Regions from separate parts of the Homo sapiens genome. Here region 2 is linked to region 1. Evidence: promoter capture Hi-C in 16 types of primary human blood cells and fetal thymus (Javierre and others, 2016). All regions are on one chromosome and are shown on one strand. The core of a region is centred on a gene start or on the middle of the fragment in contact, and the rest is flanking DNA. Distances in the headings are between cores, read along the strand shown.

Evidence for each region. Contacts are between HindIII fragments. The CHiCAGO score rates a contact against its expected background, and 5 or more counts as called.
Region 2: a fragment that was not itself captured here is called in contact with the fragment with the promoter of SEMA5B in region 1 in 4 of 17 cell types (fetal thymus, total B cells, activated CD4 T cells and 1 more); the score reaches 7.5 in fetal thymus.

Annotation. Positions count from the first base shown.
Region 1 is chr3:123,023,290-123,029,452 of GRCh38, reverse strand. It overlaps SEMA5B (semaphorin 5B), which reads left to right and starts at 1,690. Exons shown (of 23, transcript NM_001031702.4): 1 at 1,690-1,989. RefSeq lists an enhancer at 579-1,086. The HindIII fragment of the contact is 2,453 bases long and covers 782-3,234 here.
Region 2 is chr3:122,096,894-122,102,525 of GRCh38, reverse strand. All of the region lies in intron 2 of CD86 (CD86 molecule), which reads right to left. Among named protein-coding and RNA genes, the nearest start is that of CD86, 44 kb to the right of the region's middle. RefSeq lists an enhancer at 1,277-1,466. The HindIII fragment of the contact is 5,609 bases long and covers 783-5,632 here.

The DNA.
Region 1 (6,163 bases), core at 441-2,940:
ATCAGGAGACCTATCCCTATCTCAGCCTGGGACTCTGGGAGAATGGTCCAGAGCTCATTGTCCTTGTTGATAAAATGATAGATTTGGACTCAATATCCCATGCTGCCTCTTCCAACTTGATTTTTACCCCAGACTGGGCTACCAGACTGGTATGCCCACACATGCCCGTTTCCTTTCTTTTCTTCTCTGCATCTCTGCCTTTGTGTCCAGAGCGTGTTTTCCCTTTGCAAGTTTCTCTCCATTCTGCACATTATGAGTTTCAGCATTTCTGTTGCCCTAGAAAGTCTATCTTTGAGATCTTGCACTGTTTCTCTTTTTACAGTGTCTCATAAACTCCCTTCTTGGATTCAGAACCACCCTTTCTTTCCCATTATCCTGTCAAACTGCTTCTTGCCATGGTCCAGGGGTAGGAGGATGGCAGGCAGGAGGTGCTTCTCTGGGGCTCTTAGTGTCTCAATTCTTCTGCTTTATCTGGGTTTTCCTTTACCCAGAATTTTATTATGTAAAATGCTTCACTCAGACTTTGTTCTAATTATCCAATTTTTGGCATACTCTAGAAAGTCTTTTGATATTTTCCTTCCTCCAACTTATCTATTTTTATTTCATAGTTCTCTTTGGTTATCTCTTAGAATCACACTTTCCTGGTTTTAATTTTTCAAATCCTTTGTCTTTCTCACTCGTTCTTAGGTCACCTTTTTTTACATTTTCAAATATATTTTTTGTTCAGCAGAGGGCTCCCTTCCCATCCCTCTTGCAGCCCGGGCAGCTAGGATTTGAAGCTTGCCCCTTGAATCTTTCTCTCCCGCCTTCTAGCCATCAGAAACACTAGATCACTTAAACTTGTAAACAATTCGGCCTCGCTCCTTGTGATTGCGCTAAACCTTCCGTCCTCAGCTGAGAACGCTCCACCACCTCCCCGGATCGCTCATCTCTTGGCTGCCCTCCCACTGTTCCTGATGTTATTTTACTCCCCGTATCCCCTACTCGTTCTTCACAATTCTGTAGGGTGCGTATTACTAACCCCAGTTTACAGCTGAGGAAACTGAGGCTTGGAGAGGTTCGCTCGGTATCGTACAGTTTGCAAGGTTAACCCTAATCCGGCCAGTTCTGGCTTTCCAGCCCAGCCCAGCAGCCTAGCCTCCCTCTCTGCCGCTGCAGGTTATAACGGCTCTCCCCCGTTTTACACGAGGTCCCTTCCCCTTCAAATCCACAGGCAGGAAGATCGTTCCGAACTGACGGGGCTGGGGAATGTGGGAGTCCGGAGTGGGGTTTGGGGGAGCTTCCTCAGGCCCTGAGTGTTGGGGTGGGCAGGCCGCGCCGATGGCCCTCGGGGATGTCACATTCGAGATGGGGTGACCGAGAACGGCAAGGCGGGATGTGGCAAACGGCGGCAAGTGCTCGGAGTCCTAGGTCTTGCCGCCGGAATGCCGGCCGGGGAAGGGGCTTCGGCCCACCGGGCTGGTCACCACACTCGGCAGGCCCGGGGCGGGAGTCGGCCGAGCAGCCGCGGGATGCAGGGCGCCCCCTCGCGCTCCTCCGCGCGCCTCGAGGCTGGCGGGTGCAGCGCCCGCCGCGGCAGGTCTGCTCCAGCCCCCTCCTCTTTTTCGCTCCCGCTCCCCTCCTTCTCTCCCTTTGCTTGCAACTCCTCCCCCACCGCCCCCTCCCTCCTTCTGCTCCCGCGGTCTCCTCCTCCCTGCTCTCTCCGAGCGCCGGGTCGGGAGCTAGTTGGAGCGCGGGGGTTGGTGCCAGAGCCCAGCTCCGCCGAGCCGGGCGGGTCGGCAGCGCATCCAGCGGCTGCTGGGAGCCCGAGCGCAGCGGGCGCGGGCCCGGGTGGGGACTGCACCGGAGCGCTGAGAGCTGGAGGCCGTTCCTGCGCGGCCGCCCCATTCCCAGACCGGCCGCCAGCCCATCTGGTTAGCTCCCGCCGCTCCGCGCCGCCCGGGAGTCGGGAGCCGCGGGGAACCGGGCACCTGCACCCGCCTCTGGGAGGTGAGTCCCGGGAGCCCCGGGCGCTTCCCCTGCGCGGGTTGGGGCTGCAACTTGCAAACTTCAGCAACTCGGGTGGGTATCGGGGTAGAGAGGTAGGGGTCCGGGCTCTGGCAAGTTGAAGCCAGGTAGGTGAGGCTGCGGGCGGGAGGACAGGGGGTCCCCTGGCTTCCGCGCCTCCCGCTGCCACCTCGGCTTGAGAGCCCTCATCGCTGCTGCGTTCCCGCCGCCAGCCAGCTTGGGTCCGGGTTGCACTGGGCCCTGCCAGGGCTGTGGTCGGCGCATCTGGGCTGCAGCGGCGATGGGGACCCGGGACCCAGGCCTGGAGAAGGAGACGGACGAGTGAGGCTGAGGGACGGAGGGACAGAGGTGCGGAGATGGAGGCTCAGAGAGGGCCGGCTAGTAAACAGCACTGAGGGAGAGTGCGGGCGGCGAGGCGCGTGGGAACGCGTGGCCCGCCCAGAGTGTGAAATCTCCCGCTCAGGGACGTCCCTGCTCCACCGCCGCCGCCTGCGGAGCCGCCGCCCGGATTCTTCCCAGACCCGCCTCCAGGACACTCTTGCCCTGACCAGGCCTGCGGAGCGTGAACTCTGCCCACCAGGCTCCAGGGGCAGTGGCTCAGGGCCCCGCACTCCCGGCTGGGAGGGTGGAGAGGGGTGCGGCAGCTGGAAGCAGGGACGCGAGCGGCGATTTCCCGATTTATGTTTCTCATGGTAATTTGTCTTTGTGGTTGGGGCTGCCCATTCACTTTCCGCTCACGTCCTGCGGGAGATCCAGCGAGGAGGGAGGGAGCGGGGGGCGCTCGGGCACAGAGAGGGATGCAGACGGGAGAGGGGATCGGGGACCCGCGCGGGGCGGGAGCCAAGAGGGAAGTGGTCGCCGGACCGGCGGAGGAAGAAGGCGAGGCTCGAGAAAACCCGGCCCAACGGAGCCGACTCCTTTGCCCACCGCAAACTTTAAACAAGGAGGAGGATCACCTGCAGCGCCGTTCTGGCCCCCTCCTCCCCGCCCCCGCCCCCCACCTCGAGCCCAGTCTTTGGGTAGTTCCGACTGCCCGCCGCGCCAGGCGGGAGTGGGCCGAGAGTCTGGATGGGGAGAGAGGAGCGCTGGATTCTGCCCGCACCCCTGCGATCCTGCCCAGGCTTTCTGCAGAGGGGCGGGGTGAGAGCAGCAGGAGCCGGGAGGGCGGGCTACCCTGGCATGCACTCCTTCCCGGCCAACGGAATTGGGACTGAGGGTTTGGAAGCTTGCCTGTGTCTAGACCTCACCACGATCCTACCTTCTCTGGCCCTAACCCCATCTTTTTCCTTCAGCCCCTAGTGAATCCGACCTCCTTCCGCTTTTCTCAGGCACCCCAACCCACTTCGGCCTCGGGGCCTCTCTCCACAGCCCTCCCTGCCTGCTTGCTCCTCGGCCTCCCCACTTCAGCTCATCTTTTTAAGCCTGTTCTCTTCTTGACAATCAGCAGTGGCCTCTCACCTTTTCTAAGCCGGGACAGATGACCTTGAGGAAGGGGCAAGAGGGGAACTTGAACCTTGTAACTGGACCTCAAGATTACGGAAAAGGGGGGCAGATTTGAAAGCAGCTTGGAAAGAAACAGCCAGTACCTTTCCCGAAGTCTAGATTTTCAACGGAGGAGGAAAGGAGATAAAATATAGGAGAGATGGGGGAACTTGCCACTTGGTCACTCATGGGGCGGTGAGAACTGTTCTGGGCCTTGGGGCGTGGGGGTAGACCACTCGGGGCAGGGCTGCCTCTGGCTTGCTGTGTTGGGAAAGGTGTGTGTAGGTGAGTGTGGGTTTCAGGGGGAGCTCTTTTCTCCATATCAACACCTATCACCACCAGTTTGGGAAGGAATGGCAGATCTTCCATCCCTTTTCTTTTTCCAAGCAGCCAGTGCCAGAGCCTTCCTCCTCCAAAGCCAACAGTAGCGACCATAATCATCACCGTGGACATCTAACACTGTTTAAGCACCTACTATGTGCAATGCACCATGCTAAATGCTGGTAGATAAAAAGAGGTACAGGGCCGAGCCCATGCCCAGAGAGGTTAGTAAGTTCACCAGTTTGATCCTGAGACACTTGTCTATGTGTTTGGGGAGGGAGAACATGGAGAGGAACATGCAGTGGCTGTACAGGCAGCAAGGTGCCTGATGACCCAAGGGTTTAGGAGAGGAAGGGTTAAAAAAAACTCGATGACTCAGGTGGGACAGAGAGCTGGGCTTATTGACTCTGCCCTGAGATAGGACAGCCAGCACCTCCTTTCCCACTAGGGAGGGGAAAAAGTTCCTTTACCACTTCTAGTGCCAGACTAGAAAACCAGAGAAGCCGAGAGGTCCAGCCCAACACTGTAGATTGCTACCTCCCCATTAGGACTGGAGGAGCCCCAGAAACTTTCTTGTCTTAGGATGAACTTCCTGGCTTGTTTGAAAGACCCTACAGTGGTCACTTCTTATTGAGACTCAAAGCTGGGAGAGGCCCTGGAGATTGTCCATGTCAGGGGAAGCACAAATTCAAATGCCTACAGAGGGCAGGCAGGTCACAGTGTGTTGATCAGGCAATTAGAGTGGCCCAGCTTATGGACAATTGGGAGTTCAAAGCCAAACTGGCCAAGTGAAATGATCCTAACAAAATCAATTAACAGCCTTTAAGTAGCCTGACCCCTTATATCTATAGATAAAGATATTAAGATTCTAAGAAGTGAGCTCATCTGCCTTGGATATACATGTTATCTTGTCTCCCTGTACCTTGGGGATTGACTGGAATATCTCATGGCCTGGTTCTACCTCTGACCTGTTGGGCCCTTGGCTCACCCTCATTCTCAGGGCCCATTAAGATTCTTCTGTCAGATGATAAGTTCCTTGAGGGAGCCATCTTGTTTTACTCAAATCTGAGCACATCACATCCATTGATATAAGGTTCCACATGCAGAGCAAAGACTGGATTCAGATCTCCTGTCCCCATTCCCACTGGGAATCCAGTGGGTGTAAACCAATTTTATTTTTTACAAAAAAGAGAAAATTCAACCATAACTTTTTGTTTCATCTAATGTAGCAATAGGGTTAGATGAGATAAGACTAGAAGCTCACATTGGATGTTTGCAGATTCCAAGGAACATCCAGAAAGCCCTGATGCCTGAGTGGGGATCTAAAAAGAGGGATGGGAACCCATCAAGGGGATAGAGGAACAGCAGACATTTATGGATGGAGTATGTGTATTTAGGAAGATGATGCTATTGGGTCCAATTATTTGAACACTGACCATAACACTCCCGTGCTTAGTCTTGGTCACCCTCTTATATCCAATGATCTGAGTTAGCAACTCATTACCAGCCAACCAGTTCACCACTTTCATTGATGACTGAGGTGGTAGAATGGACAAAGAAGACAAAAAGACAAGATCCCTGATTAGAAGTGCATGCCACCTTGTTATGTTATATTGCCTTAAAGAACCCAGAGCTGAGTTCTGGTGCCCCACCACCTATACCCTGGCAGTAGACAGATGTTTCCCATGATCTTCAAGTGTTGGCTTTGTCACTGCCTGGGTACAGGGTAAAAGAGACCATCCAGTGGCAGTAAACTCCTGTGTTCACTCACCTACTATGTGCCAGGCACTGTTCTAGGAGCCATGGATACAACAGTAAACAACACATGCCTCTGATCTCCCAGGATGGGGTAAATCAGCATGACTAAGGGTACACAATTATCAGCATTGCCTCAACATCTGTGGTGATTTACTGTGGTGTTTTTTCCCCTGTGGGTTTGTCTGGGGGACCTGACAGCTAATGTGGAGTTGTCCAAAGGACTTGGAGTCCAGGGTTTTGGGGGAGGGTGAGAGGGCTAGGATCCCATCACCTTAGCTGTTTCCTAGTTCCAAGTTCCCTCTCTGTGCCTCAGATTCCTCACTCATCAAAGCTAAACACCTACTTTGTACCTGTGGTGTAAATAGATGCAAAGCCAGGCTCCTGGAGATCTGGGCATCTGGAGCTCTGGGGATGCACAAGTGCTTGGAGGGAGTGTTACTTATACTTAAAGATCTAAACCCCAGTGGGTTCTGGGGACCATCTTTTGCCTCATTCAGTCACCTTGATCACTAGCTTGTCTTCATTTCGTGTGTGTGTGTGTGTGTGTGTGTGTGTGTGTGTGCTGGAAATAGTTACTTCTAATGAATGAGTTTTC
Region 2 (5,632 bases), core at 2,338-4,837, 930 kb after region 1:
GAAGGATGTGGGCCACCCAACTACTTAAATGTGAATGATCACGGGGTTTGTGTAGGACCTTTTCTAGGTTACAGAATTACTTGAGACTTGGCAAAAAAAAAAAAAAAAAAAAAAAAAAAGTAAGCAGTGGTGGGTGAGAAGTGCGGGGGTGGAGAGTGGGAAGGCTGTTTCTTACTTAATATGAAGTTAGATGCCACCTTGGAGAGGAAGTTAGTGTAAGTTCTAAATAAAATTTCATCATTCAGGATTTATGTGAAGGCATGTTGACATTGAGGAGGAAAGGGAGGAGATGGGTTGATGAGAGAGATGAGAGGAGCTTCATTTGAAGAGTTCTAAGTGGGGGAGTAATTAAATTGATGTGGTTTCTCTTGAAAGAGGGAATAGAAGGACAGATAACAGTGACATGCACTTGTCAAACTAAACTGTGTACAGAGTGGCCCAGTGAGAACACATAATCAAGGGGTTGGTGGTGGTCTTGAACTCTTAGGGAAGCAGACAGCAGGCATCAGTGGGAGTTTGCACAAATATGAATCACTGCCTATTTCACTACACTCACTAGGACCCTGTGAAGTACTTGAGGTATAAAATGCACCACCTGTAGAGGATGCGTACCGGTATTGGAGGGAGGAAGGAAAATCTATATGCGTACCCTGACAGTGAAAGGGAGACCTAAGGAAGATTTAGTGTGTTTATGAATCACCTTACAAGGCAAACCTGAGGCTTCTGCATCTTCTTTGCTGAGCTCTTAATGTAATGCAAGAGTGCCCCCTACTGTAAAAGCTTCTAGCATTGTCTCTGAGGAAATACTGGTTTTAGTCTAAATTGTCATGTAATATAGGACAGATGACCTGATGGAGAAACCAAACACACAGTTAAAAATTCTGCCAATTAACAGTCAATGTTATGTTATTACTCAGCTGTCAGTTGTGCCTTCTGGACCTGGAAATGACTTCGTCTTTAGCTGCTTCTGTCTTCTTGATTTACATATATATATATATATATATATATATATTTTTTTTTTTTTTTTTTTCTGTAGAGCCTCACAGTATCTTCTTTCCTTCCCATCCATTCTGTCCACTCACAGACCAGTCTAACTCCGCTGACCCAGGCCCCTTCTCCCAAAGATTACAACGGCTTTCTCTTCCACTCATCGAGTGCTCCCTTCTTCACCTAGCAACTGAAAGTGTGATGTATGGACCAATGAGATTCACGTCACATGTGGGCTGGTCTGAAACACGGAATCTCTGGCCCCACCCAAGACTTACTGATTCAGAACCTCCATTTTAACAAGAGCTATAGTTTGAGCAGCTGTTGTAGAGAATCTCTGCCTCTGTCTCCAGAGTGGATCACAGAAAATGACATGAAAATTTTTTTTCCATCCATCCCTCCTCAGACTCCCTCTCCTCCCCATGGGGTGGAAATCACTTTGAAATCCATTCTGAGTGGAACTGAAAGTATTTTGCAATTTATACTCCATAGCACCTCACCAACCACTGGCTTCCATGATCTCACACAGAGCCAGGCATGGGGGATGCTGCTAATCCTTTCTCTGACTAAATGGGGAAAGTTTGGCTCAAGGTCTGTGATCACCAAATGACTTCAGGCCTTCCATTTTATGACCCCAGACCTCAAGCCACCTAGCAACTGGACTTACTGGGATTCCATAGGTGGGTAAGCATTGAGAATCTCTCCCTTCCCCAGCACTTGGGTAAGAGGAATGGTCGAAGTCTAGTTACAATGGGTTGCTATGATGTCAGGAACAAGTCGCTCAAGAATCCAGCTAGATGCCTTCGTAATCAGCTGAAGGAATTTGTTTCAAAGGATAATTAAGGACTTCCTGAGCAATACACTCTACTGTTGGAATGCCACTCAAAAACTGTAATTTGCTAGCCTTATGAAGTCTCTGACCCCACTGGGACTTCAGTGTTCCCTGGCTGCTATCCCCAAATGCATATCTTATATGTTTAAGAATTATCTCTTCTTTATGTTCCTATGCTTATCTGTACTAAAAAAAATTCCTTCTTTTACTAAACTTCCTCCAAAGTTTTACTTGGCCCTTTGAAAGCCTCATTCCATTACTTACTACAAGGAAACTCTCCCACATCTTTAACCCCTTCATTGACTGTTTCCCTGAGGTTATTATTTCAGTGAAATCTGGCTTCACCCAAAGGAAGCCACTTGCTCCAGCCCCAGCTACTGTTTGTTTTATCACACTTTGTGGGGACTTTGAGCAACACCTTCCCCTTTTGAGGTGTCTGACTTTCTCATTGCTTGTAGCTACTAAGTCACTACCACCTTGCTAAATGAGGATTTTGGCATTAGATGCAAGGTCTTGCTAACAATTTGGGTGACTTCTTCATGAATGAGTCTAACAACCTTGCCTCAAATTTCTTTGATCTTGTCAACTCCACAGGTCTACACCCGCAGACTATTTCAGCAGCTGCCCCCCACCTTCTTATGACATAACCCTGAAACTTTTCACCTGGAGCAGCTCAGTCCCTAGAATCTTAATCTCAATATACTAATCTCCGTCCACAACCTCCTATTCATCCAGGTTTTGCTCTTGCTTACTCCTTCTACAACTGTTGTTCAACTTAATCAAGACCTCAGCTTTATCCAGACCCTGTAGTGCAGTGTTTTCCACAAGAACTCTTAGTGATAATGGAAATGCTCTGTCTCTGTGCTGAACAATATGATAGCCACCAGCCCCTGTGGCTATTGAGCAATTGATACATAGCTAGTATGACTGAGAAGATGAATTTTTAATCTTATTTAATTTTAATTAATTGAAATTTAAGTAGTCACATATGGCTAGTGGTTATTATATTGGACAATGCAACAATAGTATGTCTTTGTAATTATTCCTTTCCACAACTTCAATAAACACACCCCTTTGTCTCTATAAAATTTACCCTGGGGACACTCTACTTTTGGTCTACATATCTGTTCTTACAACTGGGCAATTGAGCAGTTCTGGAGGAAATTATTCAGTTGTGCGGACTGGTGACATTCCAAATCTGCAGTGTCCTGTCTCACTTCACTCGGCCTCCAGGCTATTCACCTGGTTCACCTCCATTACTTCAAACACAAACCTTGTGCTACTGCTTTTAGTTTCTCTTTCCCTTGGAGTCAAACTCCCTGAAAGAGTAAGCAGCAATTGCTGCCTTTATTCCCAGCCTCCCACCCCCACCTCTCTACTGAAACTCCCTGACAAAGGTTGTTGGTGACTTCACACCATGGCCAAGGCTTGAGCTCTTTTCAGATCTCAACTCATTTGACCGCTGTGTCAAATGCAAGTGTTGGCATCTCTCCTCATTGAAATGCTCTATTCTTTCCCAATCTCTGATTTCCTTGTTAATTTTCTCAAATCACTCTTTAATTTTGGTAACCTTGAGTGCATGTTCTTGGTCTTCTTATTCTCCATACTTTCCTGGTTTTTCTCCTCTAGCCCCACGGATTCAACTGTCAAGTAAAAGCTAATAACTCCCAGGTGCTTATTGCCAGCCTATAACTTTCACTAGAGTTTCAGATACCTGTATTCAACTTCCTGCTGGATGTCTCTATCTAGATAGCAACAGGTACTGTCTTCCTCCCCTTCAGCCTTCCTCTACTCTATCTCAAGGAATGCTCCCCTGTCTGGGAATGACCAGACAACCCTCTTCTGTCTACAATCATCTAAATCATCTGTATAACCAAGATGAATCATTTGTGTACCCAAAATACCCAACAGAGGCTCTACACAAGTGTGTCTGAGGAGATCTAGAACTACTACAGCCAGAGCTGAACTCCAATATGTTAAGAAAAGGGTAGAGGAGACTAATGTAATTGTCTCCTAACTCATCTGCCTGCTCCGTCCTTGTCCCCGGGTCTAGTTTCTCAAGCCAAAATGATCCCTTAAAAATACAGCTCCAATCACATAATCCTCCTGTTCAGAAGCCTCTGATGCCTTCCACCAAACTGAAAAATATATCCAGATCCCTTCCCCTCACACTGAGAACTACATCCAAAGTCCTTCCCCTGGCCTTACAAGACCTCATGTAATTGGGTCCCCAGTACCTATCAGGCCTCTTTCCCCTGCTTACTCTCCCCAGCCACACTGCCTCCCTTGACATTCCTCCAAAAGATCACACACTCTGTCTCAAGTCCTCTTCTCATGTTGTTCCCTCTGTCCAGAAGGTTCTTCCTCCAGACAGTCTCATAGCTTCTCCTTCACTTCATGTAGGTCTTTCATTAAATGCTACCTCCCAGGGAGATTTCTCTAACCATTCTATTGAAGATAGCATCCTGGGCATTCTGTCCCTCATGCTGACTTATATTTATTGTGGTACTTATCATGACATGACATGACACGGTATGTTTGGTTATTGTCTGTCTCTCCTGAGATGTCTGGGTTCTGATTAAAAATCTATGTGTGATTTTTCAGACCTGACCACAGGCAATTAAAGAGGCTTAATCTGACAAGCCTTGCTGAGGAAGTTGCCCTTTCTACAGCAGACTTGGTGCACAGTCAGTGCATGGCAGTCTCTGAAGGGGGCTGCAATCAAGATCTCAGCCTCCCGCCAGTCATGCTTTTTCACATACTTGCAATCTTAGCCCAGGCACCCTCATTCTTAGGTCTCTTTATCTGAGGCTCTGGGGTGAGGTCTTCAGGCACCTCTGCTGAAGCCTCCTCATCATAGAGAAGACACTTTTCTCCACTCGGACTCAGTACCTAGCACTTTTCCACTCCCTGCCTTGAAGACACTGTTTTCCACTCTGACTCAGTACCTAGTATTTTTTCCACTCCTAGCCCTAAAGACACTATTCCCCACGCTAACTCAGTACTTTGTACTTTTCCACTCCTAGCCCTCTCACCTCATTTTCCTCATGAATTCTCCCCACCCTTGGATTCCTCCACCCCCAGGTCCATAAAACTGCTAGAGCCTTTCATTTGGGGCTTCTTCAATGGTAAGGCGACCCCCTAAGTCTGCACTGATTACCTGACCCTCGACTGGTATACTCACTCTATGTGGGGAAATGGAACAGGCAGAGTCTGCCCTTCCTCCCATTTTAGCCTCTTGATTATACCGTCGTAGTAAGAGATTAAAAGCTGAACTATTTTATTTTTGTTTTGCTGCTATAATTGGCTCCTCTGACACCTGACAACTCAGCTCTCTCTCTCCCAGCTCAGCTGAGCACCTGACATCTCCCATTAGAATAAGCTCCATGACAGCAGGGGCTTTGTCACTTTTCCTCACTGTGACATTTCCAGTACCTGCAATTGTCCCTTACAAATATGAAGCACTCAATAAGTAATTGTTGAAGAAAGGAAAGGAAAAATCTCAAGAATAACTAGGGAAATGCAATTTAAACCTCAGTGAGAAACCATTCTTTTTGCCCATTTGATTGGCACGTATTAAAAAAAATACTGGTAATACCCAGTGTCCGCGAGAGTGTTAGGAAAATGGGTCCTAACTGCTGAATTTACTGCTGGTAAAATTCTAAATTGGTACAACCTTTTTGGAGGACAGTTGGTAATATGTAAGAAAATTAATTATGGGCTTAAGCATTGACTTAGCAACTCAATTTCTTAAGAATTCATTCTACAAAAAGATACATGTGCACAAAATTAGAGGTACACAGGTATTCATTG